Linked DNA regions of Homo sapiens: all the other regions are linked to region 3. The links are contacts of gene promoters, found by promoter capture Hi-C in blood cells and fetal thymus (Javierre and others, 2016). All regions are on one chromosome and are shown on one strand. Each heading gives the region's core, a stretch centred on a gene start or on the middle of the fragment in contact. The rest is flanking DNA. Distances are from core to core; before and after follow the strand shown.

Region 1 (3,343 bases), core at 74-2,573, 670 kb after region 3:
CCCCATATTGCTTGACAGGATTGGAGTGGAGAATGTTCTGTTTGGTTTTATTGCATTGCAAAATTACACATAAAAGGCTGATTATTTTTATTAGAAAAGAATGGGTTACCAATAAGCTTTTAAAGAAACAAAAGCAAGCAAATGGGGTGAGTCTCCTCAGTATGTCATGAATGTTTTCTAGAGGCAAGGAAATTCACAGCAAGGAGGCAGAAGAGCTTGAATTGTTGAAGCAGGATTAATGCGCTCAGGCCAACTGAGAAACCCCAGGGGGGACGCGTGGGGTTTTTCCACTGGCTGCCTGAATACCAAGCAGGAACACCGCTGCCCTTTACGTTACCACCCTCCCGTTTTCATCCCGATGTTTCCTGTTGATTTTCTAACAGCTTAAATGTTTAAAAACAACTGCGTCCTCTGAAACATTTTAGCTACCAACAGGTGAATGTTATTAGTTAGACCTAAATAAGCGGGGTGGGGGAGAGGTGTTCTTCCCTTCCTCTGTATGAAACGAGGCTTTCCTGAATCGGAAATAAAGTAAAAATGGAAATCTGCGGGTACCCTGGTTACCTGGCAACCCAAACCCATGGGCTGCGTCTATTGGCATCCTAATGTCCCCCAGCATGAAAGATGCTGTCGGAAGGGATTCCTTTTATGTGGAGCCTCTTTACTCTCGTCCATTCATTTATCCCCAATTATTTGGTTTCCAAGTCAGTAACCCAGATTTCTGAGGGCTCTAATGCTTGTCTCTGTAGGGAAGGAGGCTTCCACTAGGGAATTTACTATAACACCTTTTAAAAGGAATCAGTGTTTTGCAACCCCCCGGGAACATTTGTGTTAAAAGGAAAAAACAAGGAGGGGGCTCTGGGGGAAGACTGCTTCTGGCTGCCCCGCAGTTCCTTCCCCATTGCTCTATGGAATGTGCAGGTCTTTCCTATTTCCTCAGGACCTCACTGCCTGAGGCTTCACTTGGAGAACTGCCTGTCACACTGCAGAGTCATCTATAAATAATCAGCCCAAATTGGCAACTGCCTGGAATGACAGTAAGGGAGAAATAACGCATTCCACACTGGCCCCACCCCCAACCCAGGCAAACCCCTGATACTTATTGTCAGTTCCATTACTGGGTCTAGAAATAATTCTAGGATTGTTTTGACATCGTTGTTTTGATTTGCAACGTTATGAAAAAATCTGGACACTACTGAAGAGACACGTGCTCAATTCCAAAGCAGAAAACTTCAAAAAATTAACATTTTGCCCTCCTCTGAAGAAAAATGCTATATTAGCTCACTAGATTTTTAGAGTAAGTATCAATGATTCTCGTAGTGATTCTGTTCATCCCTAACTAATCAAAACAAGTTTATCTGCTCTGTGTCTTTTAAAAACTTAATTCTCTCAAGGCCTTGTCCATTCTACTAGTTGTTTGTATTTCTATCAGAGGCTTTAAATTGTCAAAGAAAATCAAATTTCAATGTTTTTCCTATTTGTCAGCACCTTTTTGAAAAATTTTATGAAGGATAAGAATTTTAACTATAGGTATTACAATATAGAAAGAATAGTTAAATCCCTATAACCTAATTAATTCAACAAAATAGGTTGAGAAATTAGCAGATGTAACACCCTGCTAAAATACGTGTGTGTGTGTGTGTGTGTGTGTGTGTGTGTGTGTGTGTGTGTTGCAAAGATGAATACAGTACAGTCTGTTCTTTGAGAACTTACATTCTAAAGAGAAATATATAATGCATATGCTTTACCAGGAAATAATAATGTATGTGCTCTCCAAGGAAAATATACTAAGTACCAAAAAAGACATGAGCAATGGGAACTTTTTGAGATATAGTCATTTCCAGCTCTGGCAATGGAAAAAGCCACAAAGGCTTCAGGAGAAATGGAGAAAAAAATAGCTTTTGATCTAGTCCAATGGCTGGGTAGAATTTTGATACACAGAGATGGAAAGGACATTACAGATTAAAGAAATGGAGTGACCAAAAGCATGGGGTGGGAAGGTGCTGGAAACATTCAAGAATTGGTCAATGGTCCAGTTTAGTCAATGCACAGGATACACTGTTGTCCATTTCAACTGTGGTGTATCAATCAATCTATAATGCTGCCTTCTATAATTCATTCACTCATTTATTCAACAGATATTTACTGGATGCAACAAATATTTAAGTCTCTTTTTGGCAGAGACTTGAGAGGATTTAAAAGAACAATAATAAACAAGTGATTCTCAATTTTTCACAAGGCCTTTTGCCAAAGTTGTTGTTCACAAATTGCCACTCCTCCTTTAAGATTATAATAATATCACAGTTGATGTTGCTAAAAAAAATTCCTGTGCATGTTTAATGTGACTTATTCATGAAGAAACTGCATTATTCCAAGGGCAGGCAACACAACAGCTTGTTGGAAGAAACCGGTTCAAAGCACAAAGCATCAATACATAAAACACTCATACCATTACAACATCCCAACTACATGCAGTTATACCTCCAAAGTATTACCTGAGAAGTTGAGTGTTCAAAGGGGTGAAGCTTAGCCATTTCATTTGGAACTAGCCACCATACCATACCAATTCACTTAACAGCTGGACATTTCACCTGCAGGAAAAAAAAAAATTAAAGTGTAAGAATATTCTCAAACGATATTCTTTAATCTTATGGGTAAAAAAAAGATAAAAACATTTGCTGGATCTACTTCACTGGGTTAACGTAAGGATGAAATGAGACAATAAATGAGAAGTAATTTTAACCTGCAAAGCACTAAATAAATATTAGTTCATTTTATCACAAAAGTCAGTCTTTGCTGAGTCAGTGCCACATAAATCTCTCACTGAAAATGGTCCCAGCATGCACAATAGGACACACATTAACATTACACCAAGTTGGGAGGCTATCATGTTTTTTTTTGTTTGTTTGTTTGTTTTTTTTTGAGACAGAGTCTTGTTCTGTCACCCAGGCTGGAGTGCAGTGGCACGATCTTGACTCACTGCAACCTCCACCTCCCAGGTTCAAGTGATTCTCCTGCCTCAGCCTCCTGTCACTGGGATTACAAGTGCCTGCCACCATGCCCAGCTAGTCGTTTGTATTTTTAGTAGAGATGGGGTTTCACTATGTTGGCCAGGCTGGTCTCGAAATCCTGACCTTGTGATCCACCCACCTCAGCCTCCCAAAGTGCTGGGATTACAGGCTTGAGCCAGCGCACCCAGCCAGCTATCATGATTATTTGGTGGAATTCAGAAGAGAGCTGGGGACTATGTTGGTCACCAGTCAGTCCAGATAAGCGAGTGGCAACCACAGCAGCAGCAAAATTGAGACAATAGCTTGGAGAAGCTGCAAACATTAGCTAGTTG
Region 2 (3,468 bases), core at 333-2,832, 730 kb after region 3:
ACCCATTGCCAATGAATTAGGGAGACTTTCATATGCTCAAGGACCATTATTTGAACCAAAAATAAAATTTCTAATTATTTTCATTCATCAAAATGTCCCACAGAATTCTATGCTGTGCTAATTTTAAGATTATAGAGTAATGTAACAGATGTCATGGATTAAATCCTTCAAACAAGGAGGTATTCTTTTTGGAATATCCTATTTCCTTGCTTATGAGCTCTTATCATTGAATAAAAAACATCAGGATATTACTGAGGGCATTCTCTGCCCCAGACTCTGAACCAGATATTTTCCATGATATCTTGTTTAGTCCTCACGACAACCTTATGAAGTGCATATTATCTGCATTTTGCAAAGGCAAAACTAGAACATATTTCAAAACTTTCCCAAGTCACACAGATAAATAAATAGAAGAACCGTAAGTTAGAACCCTGTATTTGGTCTACAGAACTTCTGTAGGAATAATGGTAAGGAAGAGCTGGTAACCTGTGTAAGAAGTAAGAAATAGCTGGTAACTTGAGAAAGAAGTAAGAAAGGTACATGTGAAGATAATATAGTTTTTCAGCCTTTTCTTTCCATTTTCTTTTTCCTACTAAACTCCTAAGTGTGATCAGGACAGTTTTGTGAAATGTAGGTAATTTTGTTTTCTGTATCCTAAGAGGATACAGAAATCCTAGAAGTAAAAAAAGAGAACTCACCCACTGACAAAGATTTTCAATGAGATTTTTACCTCCAGCCAATTCTTCATCCTGTCAGAATACAGAAAACAGAAGTTGCCTTTTTTCACCAGTTCCTTTTCCTACTTAGTATAAAAATTGTTTAGCTTGCAAGAACTAATGCTACAAAGATCTAACATTAACTATAGGGAAACAATAATCAGAGTTGGAGAAACTGGCATGTGAGCAAGTGACTTCAGAATATTTCCTTTCTTCCTCTTTCTTTATGTCCAAACCAGGAATCAGACATTTCCTCAAAGCATGATAGCATTGAATAGTACCATATTTTCATAATTATTAAAACTTTCTTTTTTGGTCATTTTACTGTCAAAACTACTTGCTTTAAAATACCTCTGCCACAATCTCCATTTTGCCTTCCTTAAAGTTTTTCACTTTTTAATTTTTTTTTATTTTCCATAGAAACCTTAGCTCCCCTGTCTATTACATAAATTTGAATACCTTGAGATATTAACTGTAGATTTAAACATGGTGAGCCCTGAAAGAATTCAATTAGGTAGGAAGCCCCAGAATATATTTTATGCTCTTTAGGAATACTAATCATGTATGTTAGATCTTTGTAACCAATCTTTGTAGCAGTATCTATCATTTCTCTAATTGCTCTCATCTTTTTATTTTTTACTTTATCCTCTATGATTTTTTCAATTCTATTTCATGTCATGGTCTCTGTTTTCAGCTGTGTTGATTTTAAAATTTTGTGCTACTGCTGATTCCGTTTTTATTCATTTGTTTCTTGTTTTTTTTTTTTTTTTTAGATGAAGTCTCACCTTTTCGTCCAGGCTGGAGTGCAGTGGCACAATCTTGGCTCACTGCAACCTCCGTCTCCCCAGTTCAAGCGATTCTCCTGACTCAGCCTCCCGAGTAGCTGGGATTACAGGTGGGCACCACCACACCCAGCTAATTTTTCTATTTTTAGTAGAGATGGGATTTCACGATGTTGGCCAGGCTGGTCACGAACTCCTGACCTCAGGCAATCTGCCCACCTCGGCCTCTCAAAGTGCTGGGATTACAGGCGTGAGCCACCAGGCCTGGCCTGTTACTCATTTTTTTACATTACCTCTGCTCCCTTTCTATTTTTTTCTGTTGTCTGAGCATTGCTCATTTGACTTTTTGTAACTTCTTCTTCAATTGTTTCATATATTTAAGTGTATTCTTTTACCTCCAATTTTTAAAATTATGGCCAGCATAAAAACAATACAAAAAATAGTACAACAAACACCCATATCCATTACCTAGATTCAAAAATTATTTGCATTTTGCCATATTCTTTCTACTTTCTTTGCTTTAACCATTTAAAAATAAGATGCAGACATCATAACACTTCACCCCTAAATACGTTAGCAACTTCTAAGAAAAATGACATTATCTTTACATAACCACAATACCATTACCATATCTTAAAATAAATAATAATTTTCTACTATTATATAAGGCCCATTTATATTCACATTTTTACAATTATCTAAAAAAACTGTCTCATATTTGCTTTTCTCAAACCAGGATTTAATCAAGTGCCATGCATTACATTTGATTGTTACATTTTTCCAGACTCTTTTATCGAGAAAAGTATCTATTTTTTGTCCCATGGCACTGACTTCTGAAGAAAAATGACCAGTTATCTTACAGAATGTCGATTATTTTCTTGTGGTATCATTTAACTTCTGCTATTCCTTTATTTCCTAAGTTAAATCATCCTTGCATTACTAGATAAACTCCACTTGAACATAAGGTATTCTTTTTAAATGTCCTTCAGGGATCCTATTTTTTAATATATTATTTTGGATTTTTACATCAATATTCATCCCTTGGTCTCTGGTTGATCTTTCAGCTGTAGGAATGTGGAGTGAGCCCAGAAACAGCCAGCAAGCATCCTTAATGTTAATTATTTTCCTGCCAAACTGATTAATCCTCTGTTATGTAAACATACTGGTTCTGAGTGTACCCTCTTAGGACCCTTGCCATTCTGAAAGTTATCCTAGTCTGGGACCAGGTCGTGAACAATAAAGGCGGTGGGAATACATGATCTCCTTTTAACATCACCTTTCTTGTCATTCTTTGAAACCGAATGGTGCCCCAGTCAATGTTCTCTCTGTTTCTCCTTAATCCATCCATAGAGTTAATCCTTACTGCATCAGGTTAAAGATTAGTAGTAAGACTCTTTTTAATCCACTGATTTGAAATTTGCTTCTTTCCCAATATCAGAGGATATAGGAGAAAGGTCTGAACATCCATCTTCAATTAATTTGGTTCAAGTGATCTTGCTTCTAGGAGATATTCTTCAGTAGTCAGTGATGTGGAATTTAGCTGTCTGCTGCTTTTGTTGTAGATATAATTTTTCCTTTCTATTTGGCTCTTTTTGTTCATATCTGTAGGTTTCAGGAAGAGGAATAAGGCAAACTTACTCTCATTCAATCATCTTTCCAGAAACTTCTATAATCTGAATATTTAAATTATTGATTTAATATTTGTTAAATATTAAGTATTTCTCAAATGTTGATTAAGTATTAGGAATCTAAATAAACAGAAGTATATACTATTGAATGTCAAAAACAAGGCAAAAAAAGCAAACATCAATAACCTATAACCTCTCTGCTATCCATTGTAAGAGCTCTTAACTAAGCTTCTTTTTTTTTTTTTTTTTTTTTGAGATGGAGTCTCACTCTGACACCCAGACTGGAGTGCAGTGGCGCAATCTTAGCTCACTGCAACCTCCATCTCCTGGGTTCAAGTGATT
Region 3 (3,694 bases), core at 190-2,689:
TTAAGGTGCCCGAATGCGCTGAGCACTCTTAACTGCCTCGAGAACTTTGGCTGCACGCGGAAAGGGTTCATCTCCGAGTTGTTTAGCTGACTACGGATGCGCGTCCTAGACGCGCCCGCTGTCCTGGCGGGCTCCCTTGATCGTCCCGGAGAGGCTAGGGATCCGCACGCAAAGGGTCCCCGCCAGTGCCCATCCCAACCACCCAGTGCCCGACTCCGGTAGCGTGGGCTGGGGTTCAAGCCTGTACCTTGTCGTAGGCGCCCCACGACAGCTCGGTCTCGATGACCATGACCACGATGCCGAACATGCCGAAGATGAGCGCGTAGTCGCTGAGCCGCTTGCGCTTTTCGAACAGGGCGCGCCGGTGGCCCAGCTTGTAGCCGATGTTCTGGTTTTTCTTTTTGCTGGACTTGGTGCCACTGCTGCTGCCGTGCCCGCTCCCGCCACCGCCGCCGCCTCCTCCAGTGCTGCCTCCGCCGCCGGTTCCATAGAGCGCCAGGTTGTTGGAGTTGTTGTGCTCGGGCTTAGACACCACGATCTCGGGGGCTGAGGACGAAACAGCGGCGGCGGCGGCAGCGGCTGCAGACGGGGAGGACGCGCCGCCACCTCCTCCGACAGACGCGGGGGGCTGCAGGGGCTGCGCCTCTGAGTCCATCTCGTGCAGGTTCCGGCGGGACGCGCTCAAGTTGCTGAGCGGCCGCATGACGCCCCCGTTGTACCTGCAGCTGCTCATGGCTATTTCGGTGAAGGGGTTGCTCTCGCGGCGCGCCTGGGGCTGGTGGTGCTGGTGGTGCGCCGGGTGCGGGTGGTGGTGGTGGTGCGAGAGCGGGGGCCCGGAGCCCAGACTGCCGAGGCTGCCCGTGGGGCTGGCGGCGGGCTGCAGGCTGTGGCACTGGTGGTACTGGGAGGCGGACGCCGACTGCTGCGCGGACTGCTGCGCGTACTGCTGCCGGAGCGCACTGGCATGGCTGGACGGCGTCAGCTCGCTCACATTGAGCTGGCTGCCCCGGCGCGACGAGCAGCAGCAGCAGCAGCAGGACGAGCCCGACAGCGGCGAGGAGGTGCGGGTCCGGAAGGCGCCGCCGGGCGAGGAGGTGCGGAGCAGCAGGGACAGGTTATCTCCCGCCCCCGCCGCCGGGGCACCGGAGGAGGCGCAGCTGTTGCACCGGAGGCATGGGCTGCTGCCGCCGCTGGCCGGCTGCTGGTGCGCGAGGTGCGGGTGGTGGTGAGGGTGCGGGAGGGGCGCGAAGGGCGGGCACGGCTTGTCCTGGCTCTGTTGCTGCTGCTGGCAATGCAGGTGTGAGGAGCGCGGCGGCGGCGGCGGCTGCTCTGGGAAGAAGCCGCGCTGGAACTGCAATGGGGTTTCCATGTCAGGGCTGTTAAAGCTGCAGGGAGACCAAGCGGTGGTGCACCCTGCGCAATGCGTTATGGTCGGGAGCGGGGACTCCTGCTGCTGGTGCGAGGAAGGGCCCATGCCGGCTCCGGTAGAATCCAGGCGGCGAGTCCGATTGGTTGGGCGCACCAAAACAATGGGCATGACATCACCTGCGGGGACCGAGACTGAGTTTGCGGCGCGCGCGGCTTAGGGAAGCGTGTGTGGCAGAGAAAGATGGGGAGGGGAATCTGCAGGACAAACCCTAGGGGGGTGCAGTCCAGAGCCAGGGCGCTCCAGGGCAGGGATTCCGCCTGCTGATTGCGTGGAGATGGAGAGCCCCCACGCAGTGCAGCTGGGCTGCAGGGGGAGGAGAAAAGAGAAAGGCGCCCCTCCCTCCCGTGCCGCTGCCCCCTTGACTAGTGCCGGACGCGCTGCCCGGATCACCTGCGCCAGCCACTGCAGCACGTCGGGCCACCTTGGCCGGGGGCAGGCTCAGGGACGGTGTGGAACCCCGACCACTTCTCCGACTGCACGCCTCGCAGGGCTGCAAAACAGCAGCCCCCTCGTCCCACGCCCGCTTCTCCCAGATCATCCCGCCGAGAGTGGGCTGCCGGCTGCCCGCCAAGTAACTGCGGGGGCACTGGCTTTGGGGAGAAAAAGTTTGGCGACCGGCTGCGCCAGTGCAGCAGCGTGTGGGGAGAATCCCGGGGCCTGAGCCCTGCCTTGGCCGCTGCGGGATCATAGCCGACCCCGAGACCGGATCTTTCCCAGCCGGCAGGCTCTGGAATCTGGATTGGGTGCGCGGCGCTCTAGCCCAAGTGCGCTGCGGCGCGGGTAGGGTTAACCGCCTCGGCACCCCGGCCGGGGGTGGGTGGGGGCGGGGCCGGAGGAGGGGATCCCCGCAGTCTGCCGACAGAGCCGGCCGGGCTTCCCGGGTCCCCCCTGGCGGGGGCGGAGGGCTTTCCCCGCTACCGCCAGCTCACATTTGCGCCTTCTCCAGAACATGAGGGGATGGCGCCCCCGGCCGCCGGGTCCTGGGCTCTGGCGCTCAGGCCCTCCGGCAGCCCGAATCCGGAGGTCCCAGGGCTTCCTTGCCGGTGGAGAGGCAGGCGGCTCGCTCAAAGGTGTGGGGGCTGCTCAGCCACCGCCGGCCTCCAGCTGCTCTTCTGCTTCTCTTCCTCCTCCTCACCTGCAGCGCAGACACAAAGCAAAGACCGGTCACAAATACGCAAATATCGAGCATCTTTGCCAAGTCCTAACTGCAGCGGCGGGTGGGAAAGGGGCCTGGCGCGGGCTGATTCACCCCGGTAGTCGCAGCCTGGCAGGGAAATTAAGAATGATAGCTTGGGCTGAATAGTCGCTGCCCACGGACAGTGCTGGAGTTTTGTTGGAGTTCGGTATCATTATTTATTTATTTACTCTCTAATAAACTAACAAAAATTGCATTTGGTGTCTCACAAATTCCCTGTGCTGTCTTCTTCTAAGAGATGTACCAACACAATGCACTAGGTGATCCTTATGTTCTTTGTTTCTGCTCCATCTTAAGTCTTTACATTTGCATTTCTTTGTGAATTCAAATTCCCGTCTCCCCCTAAAGAAGGTGAAAGAAATTGGCCCGTTGAATATTTGTTTCCATTTTAAATTATTTTAAAGCCTGCTTTTCATGATAAAGACTATTACAACGAGTTAGACCTAGCAATTAGAGTGAAAGCGGATCACCCTCATTAGGTCATTAGGTAATTGGAATTCTCAGCTGGATCCAATTTCTTGATATTCTACTCGGCAGCTGCCCTAAAGTTGCTTACCTGGTATCTGCTTTTCAGAGTGTGCGTGTGTGCGCTTTCAATGCCATGGAATGAATAATTCATTTTATGATGTTCTTTGGACACATGTTAATTTTAATTTTTTGTGTGTGCAAATAAACATTCAGCAGAAAAAAAGGGGTGGGGGGTGCACAGCTGCTTTTAGTCCCGTAGCCCTGGACTTGAGCTAATTAATACTGTCCGGAATTGAATTTCTCAATGGTCTTGGTCAAGAATATAATTTAGTGGCTAACAATCAGAGACAGCATTTTGTTTTTATCATCTATTACTATTTTTGTTCTGTATCTTCAAAATAGCAATTCAATAAAACTTCTTTAGAATCACGAAGCTAATTGAGTCTTCGGGGCAGCTGAGTAGATACTGCATAAATTGTGTGGAAAGCATGAGTATTCAAAACAATCCTGCGAAGTAATTTGAATTAAAATGAAAGTTTCCCTATGAAAAGTTACTAACCTGGTCTGAAAAAGAAATTCAACTCATGCGGAAAATCCATCAA

What was found. The method cuts DNA at HindIII sites, captures the fragments that hold promoters and counts their contacts. A CHiCAGO score of 5 or more calls a contact.
Region 1: a fragment that was not itself captured here is called in contact with the fragment with the promoter of KCNN2 in region 3 in 1 of 17 cell types (endothelial precursors); the score reaches 5.7 in endothelial precursors.
Region 2: a contact is called between a fragment that was not itself captured here and the fragment with the promoter of KCNN2 in region 3, in 1 of 17 cell types (M2 macrophages). The highest score is 7.0, in M2 macrophages.

What each region holds. Positions count from the first base shown.
Region 1 is chr5:113,690,307-113,693,649 of GRCh38, reverse strand. LOC107986441 (a long non-coding RNA gene) reads right to left here. Exons shown (of 3, transcript XR_001742841.1): 2 at 2,496-2,591. Among named protein-coding and RNA genes, the nearest start is that of YTHDC2, 180 kb to the right of the region's middle. The HindIII fragment of the contact is 2,409 bases long and covers 119-2,527 here.
Region 2 is chr5:113,630,595-113,634,062 of GRCh38, reverse strand. LOC107986441 (a long non-coding RNA gene) reads right to left here and starts at 757. Exons shown (of 3, transcript XR_001742841.1): 1 at 699-757. The HindIII fragment of the contact is 3,549 bases long and covers 1-3,356 here.
Region 3 is chr5:114,359,815-114,363,508 of GRCh38, reverse strand. KCNN2 (potassium calcium-activated channel subfamily N member 2) reads right to left here and starts at 1,439. Exons shown (of 8, transcript NM_021614.4): 1 at 248-1,439. The coding sequence starts at 1,369. RefSeq lists a silencer at 2,162-2,371 and an enhancer at 2,410-3,326. The HindIII fragment of the contact is 13,933 bases long and covers 1-3,694 here.